Regions from separate parts of the Homo sapiens genome. Here regions 1 and 2 are each linked to region 3. Evidence: promoter capture Hi-C in 16 types of primary human blood cells and fetal thymus (Javierre and others, 2016). All regions are on one chromosome and are shown on one strand. Each heading gives the region's core, a stretch centred on a gene start or on the middle of the fragment in contact. The rest is flanking DNA. Distances are from core to core; before and after follow the strand shown.

What was found. Contacts are between HindIII fragments. The CHiCAGO score rates a contact against its expected background, and 5 or more counts as called.
Region 1: a contact is called between a fragment that was not itself captured here and the fragment with the promoter of CTB-3M24.3 in region 3, in 1 of 17 cell types (endothelial precursors). The highest score is 5.1, in endothelial precursors.
Region 2: the fragment with the promoter of FSTL4-AS1 here is called in contact with the fragment with the promoter of CTB-3M24.3 in region 3 in 17 of 17 cell types (neutrophils, activated CD4 T cells, fetal thymus and 14 more); the score reaches 28.1 in neutrophils.

What each region holds. Positions count from the first base shown.
Region 1 is chr5:133,548,654-133,551,479 of GRCh38, reverse strand. All of the region lies in intron 3 of FSTL4 (follistatin like 4), which reads left to right. Among named protein-coding and RNA genes, the nearest start is that of FSTL4, 62 kb to the left of the region's middle. The HindIII fragment of the contact is 776 bases long and covers 914-1,689 here.
Region 2 is chr5:133,254,972-133,258,009 of GRCh38, reverse strand. FSTL4-AS1 (FSTL4 antisense RNA 1) reads right to left here and starts at 1,565. Exons shown (of 2, transcript XR_007058939.1): 1 at 1,492-1,565. The region is part of intron 6 of FSTL4 (follistatin like 4); the gene reads left to right. The HindIII fragment of the contact is 11,288 bases long and covers 1-3,038 here.
Region 3 is chr5:133,386,410-133,389,164 of GRCh38, reverse strand. It overlaps CTB-3M24.3 (a long non-coding RNA gene), which reads right to left and starts at 1,283. Exons shown (of 3, transcript XR_948794.4): 1 at 1,195-1,283; 2 at 586-692. All of the region lies in intron 4 of FSTL4 (follistatin like 4), which reads left to right. The HindIII fragment of the contact is 3,410 bases long and covers 1-2,755 here.

The DNA.
Region 1 (2,826 bases), core at 52-2,551, 160 kb before region 3:
TAATGTACAAAATTCAGATGATAAACAGTTACTGCCCTTGTGCAGTGAGAATTAATGCTTTCTGAGTCGCAGTATTGTTTTGATAAAATAGTCTTAATTGTTTGCTTTGTACATTTTCTGCTTTATTATTTTTATTATTTCTCTTGCCTCTGTAATTGGTCGTTATTGGGTTCCCATTATTTCTTTATTAGTCATTTTATAAAAGCTATCTTGTGATTTATCCTCCCTCCCACACTTGCTGTTCCCCCAAGTATCGTAAACAGAGGCAAGACCCAGGCAAACAAAGCTGGTGGTATTGTTGGTTGCTTTGAGTGGCTCGCCCGTTGTCTTTAGGATGGTTCATTCCCAATTGCTTGACTGCTATGAAAGAACTTATATGAATCCCAGGAGGTTTATTAGAAACATGTTCTAAGTAATAGTAAGAAAGTTGGATTAACAGGGTCTGCATGGAAACTCTAACCTCCCTCCCTAAAGGAGGAGAGGAGCAAGATGAGTCTTTCCAGCTTGGGGCAGGCATCGTAAGTGTACAATGACCACATAATATGGCACACTATATAAAAGGACAAGAAAATCATCGCTCATACAGTGAAAAGAAGCCAAACTCCATTCTACCTAAAAGTTGGCTTTCTATAACATTTCCAGCCACCATTACATTGGGACTTTATCCTACTCTTATTACTCATATGATCTCATTGAGTTGAGAGTTGTCTCCTTCTGTGTTCTCTAACTATTCAGTGTAGTTTTTCAAAATTATACAGCCAGACATTCTGAGTATGATCCAATGTACTGGTTATATTACTTTGAACAAGTTATTTAAACTTCTGTGCTTTGGTTTTCTCACATCTAAAATAGTGGTGATAGTTCTATCTACCTCCTATGGCAGTTGTATGGATTAAATGCATATTAAAAAGCTTAGCATAGCACTGGCCCACCTTCTGAGTAGGCTCTATATTAGCCATCATTGTTAGCTATTATTCACCCACAGTTGGGGCTGGGGTTGCCTGGGGTTGTGACTTCTAATTCTAAGTGGGCCTGTAGTATGGGGGACTAGGATGTCTTTGGTGAATACTTACTGAAATGCATTGGGTTAGAAAGCCTTGGATTTAACTGGACCAATTTATTTTCTTTCCTCAAAACTGAGTAATCACATTTATCCACCATTTCAGAAAGAGTAGATACTAATAACATGAAAATTTTAGAACTATTTATGCAGCTTATTGTTTCTGGCTATATGGGAGGCTAGATAACTTAGCTGACTCTCCCACTTAAAACAATTTTAAATAATGGATAAAACATTTAAGCAATCCTTTAAATACCTCAGTGAGAAAGCAGGAACTAAAGATTCATAAGAGGCCAAAAACTCAGAGAAAGTTGGGTTCTAAAGCAGACTTTTGCTTTGAGAGTATTTGCCCAATGCAGGTGACCTTGAACTCTGATTGTTACGACCTCAAGAGATATGGGGACAGGAGTCAAGCCTAGGGCAGATCAGTCTGTTAGAAAACCTCCTCTACATAAAAGCTGAGACCCCAACAGACCCCAGTAGGCTACCTCTCTAGTGTAAGGATGAAATAAAAATAAACATGCCCTGTCTTCTCTCAAGGATGTGTGAAGAAAATTGCCTGCCTTAAACCTTGATGCTGAGTGGGAGCCAAAATGTTTCCTCTGAGAACAGGAACCACAAGCTAAGCTTTCAGTAGAATTCATATAACAGACTAGTCTGAGAAAGCCTCAGCCAAGAATTTTGCTTGAAACAGTCCTGGTTGATAGTGTTCCTAGGTACATGGTAGAGCAAACACAAATCCTATGTAAAAGAACTCTTCTTCAGTATTGGCCTCAAATAATTTTGACAGTTTTCCATCCAAGGAATATGAGCTCCCAGTTAAAATTTGTAAAAATGAAAGGATGCAAAACACCAAAAGAAGAGCCAGCAGAAAGGAACTATGAAGACCAGATAATAGAATTAACATTTAAAAAACTGTGCATGCTGTGTTATAAGCAATAAAAAGGGAGCTGAAAATATAAACAAAGAATAAACCTATAGAAACTATCTTGATTATTTGAAAAATAACCAAATAGAATTTCTAGAAATTAAAAAAGGTAATTGAAATTTTAAAAATCAAAGGATAGACTTCAGAGCAAACAGGGCATAACTGAAGAGAACTGGAAGATACATCTGAAAATGTAACCAGAATGCAAGGAGGAGACAAAGCTATCAAGGTTAGGAGGCAAGGAGACTAGGATAAGGAGGACTCAGTCATTTGTAATTGGGGTTAAAGAGAGAAAACAGGAAGAGTAATATTGGAAGGGATAATGGTTGAAAAAAGTTTGCAAAACTAAAGGAAGACAGCTATCCTCAGATACAGGAAGCCCAGTAAATCCCAAATAGGATAAACAAAAAGAAACGTAAGGCTATCTACAACAAAAACTTGCAGAATACTAAGGACAAAATGATAACCCTCAAAGTAGCTAGAGAGAAAAAACAGATTACTTATGAGAGACTTATAGTTTATTTCCCAGTAGAAATCAGAAAGCATTGGAATATCTTTAATATGCTAAGAGAAAACATTGGTCAATCTAGAATTTTAGACCTATTAACCATGTTCCACAACACTCTTACTCTTATTTTCTGTTTTTTCCCTTCTTTTTTCCCCCTTCAAGCTTCAATCTACCTTTGAGTTCATTAACCTTTTCTTCAGAGTTTTTTTATGTTAATTCTAGCCAGTGAATTCTTAAAATTCAATATAATATTTTACAGTTCTAGATCCTTTTGATTCTGTCTTATGGGTTCCAGTTCTCCGTTGAGCTACTCTTTCTTTTCTTTGCCAC
Region 2 (3,038 bases), core at 316-2,815, 130 kb after region 3:
GAGATTCTGGATCCAACCTTAGAGATCTGTATGAATTTTTGTAAATTCTGAGTAGCTCTGTATAATTACATAAGGTAATACATTCTTTTCCCCCTTAAGACACCAAAGTAATAGGCAGTTAGGATACTCTCCTTTTGCAAATATCTTGAGCAGAGGTATGCCCATCATCTTTGGGTGTAGACTCAGTAGGGTGGGAGAGACCCATAGAGTGGCCAAGCTGACCAAGGCTACCCCACACACAGGAACCAGCGGAGGTGGAAGAGCTGGTATGCAGCACTGTGACAGCCATGCTCCTGCTGACCAGGAGGCCCTGTGCTCTCCACCTCAGCAAGGACCCTTTGCTCCTTCTGATGGATGCCTCTCCTGCCTGCCACACTGTGGCACCCCATGATACCCAGAATGGTGATCTCACAGCCCCTGGGCACTGAGTTCTGCTCTAACTTCCTGTTCGTCTGCACACAGCAGTCACATTGAGGTTTAGTTTTCTCAAAACTAAAAAGGTGTATTGGCCAGAGGAGGCTAAATGGAACCCCAGAGCCTAGAGGGATGCCCAGGTAACCCTGCCCCTGCACAGGCCGGCCCCTCCTGCAAACAAGGAGGATACTACATCAGACTAGGATGTCTCGATAGCAGGACACAGGTCTGCCAGGCACACAGGGAGGGCTCTACCAAGAAAGAGGGCAACCAGGCTTTACAGGAGTCACGGGCCCTTAACCTGGGGTCTGTAGACAGGTTCAGGCCTCTGCTCTCCCTCCCCACTTAACACTTGTCTTCTCTGCTAAGCCATGAGCTCCAGGTTAGCAAGCACTGGGCCTGTTTTTCTTGCCAGTATATTCCCACTGTATCCTGGCTCCTGGTACCAGCTCCATAAATAATTGTTGACTGAGCACTAGCCTAATAGTTCACTTGCTTAAAACTGCTTATTAAGTCCCTTCTGCGTGGTAGGCATTGTATTAGGTGCTGGGGATACAACATAAATAAAACAGATATAGTCTCTGCCTTTATGCAGCTTACAAAGGTGTTTGTTCACACCAGAGAGCAGAACTTGATAACTAAACTGTAATAAAAGTTGAAGCAACATCAAGCAACATAGGCCAGTTGAAAAAGTAAATTACCCACTGACCCGCAGGTAATTAACTAGTAATTTTATTGCCATCCCCAAAATGAAGCAAGCAAGAGGGAATGACAATGGCAGGAAGATTGAATCTGGTTACACGTAAGGAAACAGGAGATTTGGGACAGATGCAAGTGCTCTCTTGTGTGGCTTTGGAGCAAGTCTGGCTAATACAGAGCCACCTGTGCAGGCTGGATGCACCCTGGTGCTCTAAACAGGAATGTCAAGATGAAAGGCTTTAAGACATCCTGTCCCCAGCCTCCCATCCACAAACATTCAGCAGTTATTTGAAAGGATCCCAGAGTGACAATCTCTGGTAGACGGAACAGAGGAGACAAAAAGCACACCATCCCTCCCACCCGCCTTGCCCGGCTCACCAGGATACGCCAAAGCAGCTTCACTCTGTAAACACCAGCCAAAGTCACAAGGTCCGGGAGATGTTGCCCTGTTTGTTCAGGAGACACTGGGCATGCGCACTCCCCCTTGGCTCCTCCCCTACTCGCCAACTTCACAGTGTGACTCTGGTCACAGGGATGGGACCAGATCAATAGACTTTGTCACTCCAATGCCCCAGCTTCTTTGGTGGCACCTAGGTCACCTGAGGGGTTTGTTTCAGGAAAGCACATTAATTTAGAAGGAGAATAATGTGGGAAGAGGCCGCAGTTAGAGAGATGTGTCTAAGCGCCTGGCCTGTGCTCTCTCCAAATTGCCCTCATTCCCAAGCAGGCCCCTGAGCCTGAGTTTGCCCTCCGAGGCTCAGTCAAAAATATTGATGTGCAGGCAGGTTACTGAGCTTTTGACAGGGTTTTTTTCACCAATGGCATCATTTGAAAAATGGCAAATATCCAAGTAGGAATGTGTTCCATTAGTGTGTTTCTGACATAAGAAAACTAACACCAGCTTGACAAGAATTTGAGAAATTTAATTTCTATCACTACAAAGCACCAGAATCCTGTTTGAGAGGGTGCTGATGGGTTTATGAGTGTCTTATCGAGTTCAAGTCAGTGTGAGAAATAGCGCCTGAGATTAAGGGAAACCTGTAATAGGAACTAAAACCCAGTTCTCCAACAACTGAAATGTTATGGCCTCCTGCTTTCAGGAAGGGTGTTTGTTAGCCTGCTTATGGTAAGCCCATTAATTCCCTGTGACTGCCTCTTCTCTCCAAGCTCCAAGACTCAGGGAGAAAGGTGAGGACGGGTGTTTGTGGCATCTCATGTCTGGAAAACCAAGGGTATGCTACTGCACTGGTTTGAAGGGCCTAGAGAGATAGGTCATGGCCTTGAGCCCACCTACTGTGTGCCATGCCTTGTGCTAGGCACCAGAGTGCCAGACAGCCCTGCCCAGAATCCCACTGTGGGACACGCAGCCTAGCTAGTGGTCCAGGAAGCTCTGTCTTGTGCCAACCAACCCACACTGACTTGGGCCATCACTGCAGTGTGACCCATTTGTTTTCATCCCAGGGGGATATCATGGGAAGCCCTGAGCTTTGAGAACCCCCCAACTCCCTTGCCCTCCTCAGATTCCCTACTTGCAGAGCAGCTCTCCAATGTCAGTTCTCATAGCAGGGCGTCAGTCCCTCTGTGGGCACAGACTTCTGCCCAGTAGTGCCAGACAAGCTCCCTGATGGGCTGCTCTGACCCCCAACCCAGCCCTCTCTTTCCAAAGACACCAGCCTCAGTGTGTAGACACATTCTCACCCCAGACACAGCGTCTGGCTGAGCCCTCTCTCACTGACCCCTGATCACACTCTGAGTGCTGGGCATATCACGTTTGGTCGTCCAGGGACCTTGGAAACCTTCCCACATAGTGGCTAATGAGCCCACAGATGGTCAGTCAACACAGGGGCATTGGAGCCACAGCCAGGAGCCAGAAGGACCACTCGTTGCCCCCTAGAGGGCTGCATGTGGCATCTTCATCTTCCTCT
Region 3 (2,755 bases), core at 34-2,533:
GGAAAAATTATTACAAGAAACAGAAGCTCATTTTAGACAGCAACTGTGTTCTACTCCCAATGCAAGAAAACATGAACTCTGAAATGAGATAAAAAATGGGATTGTAAATTGGCTGAGCCACAGTCAAAAATAAAATGGAAGCTGGGGGAGGTAAGGAAAGAATATAAAGAACCTGAAATACAATTGCAGAAGTTCCTTCTCCACTTCAAGCAGTCAAAGGAAAGATTAACCATACAGAAATCATAGTTGTTCCAATACAGGGAACAAACTTGAAAACCGCTCCCCAAATACACCGAGAATGAGAAGAAGATTTAAAAAATACTGTGGGAGAGGATGATAGTTATGTAAGACAGAGATAAAAGATTTAAAATAATAGTGATTGGTTATCTTAAAGACCTCAGAGCAATTCAAATGGACACAATAAGCAAAGAGAGATCCAAAAAAATAAGTGCCCTATACTGAAAGATCTATCAAATAAGTCAAAATATAATTGCTGACATTTTAGGTTTTGAAAAAAAAAATTAAAGTGATCTGAAATATCCAGAGAGAGAAAAACAAAGCAGACAAAAAAAAAAAAAGTCCTACCTGGTGTTGCACTGGGGGCTCTTGAGTGGTTTCAGCTGACCGGCTTGCCCAGGGGCAGCTTCTCCCCTTCAGTTACATTTGTGTCAAAGGTGAGTCTCAGACACTGTCTGGTAGGAAGGAAAAAAAACATTCTGTTCTTGGACTTTTCTGCGATATTAAGAAGCAAGAAGGCAATGAAGAACATTGGTAGAATTTTGGGGTGGTAAGACCATGATGCAAGAATTCTACACTTATCAAATGGTGATCCATGTATGGAAAGAATAAAAAGTATTTTCTGCTGGGCAAGGGTTCAAATAATACACCATCCGTGTACTCTTGGCTGGGAAAAAAAGTGAAAGATGAACCCTTCACATTCTACAGAGAAATCAGAGAATCTGACAAAGAGGAACTCAAGGCTTAGGTGAGCACAGAGGCTCTTGAAATGAGAAGGTGTCTAAATAACTTTTTCAAATATAGTTACCAAAAATTGCAAAGGGTAAATGATGAGGTTAAGTGCGCTTAATTTTCTTGACTGACTTATTGGAATTTCAACAGATCCTGCATAATCCTTGACTCGGTATGTTAAAAAGCATACATGAGGGCAATATTCCATCAGAGCCCAGAACAAACCTCATGCAGCCCCAGACAAGTGTCCATGGCTGTTCCCAGGTGATCTGGGAGACTTCACCTCCTGCCTTCACTGGTGTATCCAGAGACCATGGGAAGGATCAGCCACTGACTGACGTGTTCGACCTACGGTCGGGCCTCCCCGTGCCTTCATCTCGGTGGCTAGAGTGTGCTCCCCAGAAAGCATGCAGGGCTACAACTGAAGTGGAAGAAAACCGCAGCGGGTCATAGTGTGTCTTCCTTGTGTGATGAAGCCTTTGTTCATGGGCGTGTGTCAGTATGCCAGTGACATGGTCAGGACAATTGGGAAGGCCTGAACTATTGGTTCTAATGTTGCAGTCAATACAATGTGATTAACCAATTAGAGAGAAATGCATAAGAGCCAAATTCTGTTGCCAAGAAAAGGCAAAGAAGGTAGAAGAGCTGCCCTGTTAAGAGATAGAGGTAGAAGTTCAACCCCCAAGGCAATAAAGGGCCACCATGGGACACAGCCTTGCAGAAAAGAAGGAATGGCCATCAGGGTGGGGTGGATAGGATCATGGGAAATACACATTCTCATTCACGGAGAATGTGCCAGGCTGCCAGCCCACCGCCAGGGGCTGTATGGACGTCATCTCATGCACTCCTTTTCCTAGTTGGTGTTTACTGAGAGGCAAAGAGAAGCCAGATAACTTTCCCAGTTACTGGACTTGTAAATGACGGCACCAGTACTGGCACCTGCCCATCCCCTTTCAGTGTGTGTCAGTGGCCACTCCCATGATTAGGAGAGATATTTGTCAGGGAGTGGGGCTTGACCTGAACCTGGAAGAGTGGGTGGGTGGGACATGAACAACCAGGTACAGGGCAGGGGCAGCAGCAGAGGGAAAGACTTCATGCAGCTTTGCTGATGTTATGGCTGCATTCCTTCCTCCTCCACCAGACTTGGCACTTGCAACTGATCAGACAGCAGGTACCTAAAAACTCTCACTCCCCTAAAGGGAAATGAGGAGAAGTTAGAGTTACCGCAGACATCAAATATTGTATATCCAGTTGTTTTAATGAAATGAATCACATTTACACCCATCTTGTCTTTGAACTTCAGTGGCTGTCTCCACGTGGCTATGTGACGTGACAACCCCAGTGAGCACATTACAAAGGAAGAAAGTCCCCGCCAATGCCACGTGAAACACAGGGTGAGGGCTTCGTTGCACAGGAAGAAAAACGTCCATATTTCTCGGTCACACCTTTCTGTCTCTCCACTTCTGCCTGGGTTCCTTCTCGCCAGTGTCCCCACCTCTGCCCCCTGCCAAATTTCAGTGACATGAAGATCTCGTTTATGTGCCAGGCTTGTCTCAATAAACATTCTCCTAGCAATTTTAAAGGAACAAACTTTCCATATTAAAAACTTTTGTGGTTCTCAGGGTAAACAACTGTGGGTATCAGGAAGACCTGAAGAAATGGGGAATCTATACAAAAGGAAGGCAAAGTCCACTGCTGAGAAATGTGGTTTCTCTCTGTAAAACATGCTGACAGAAGCCCATATACTAATTTAGAGAAACAGTTGGCACAAAACAAGATGCACAGT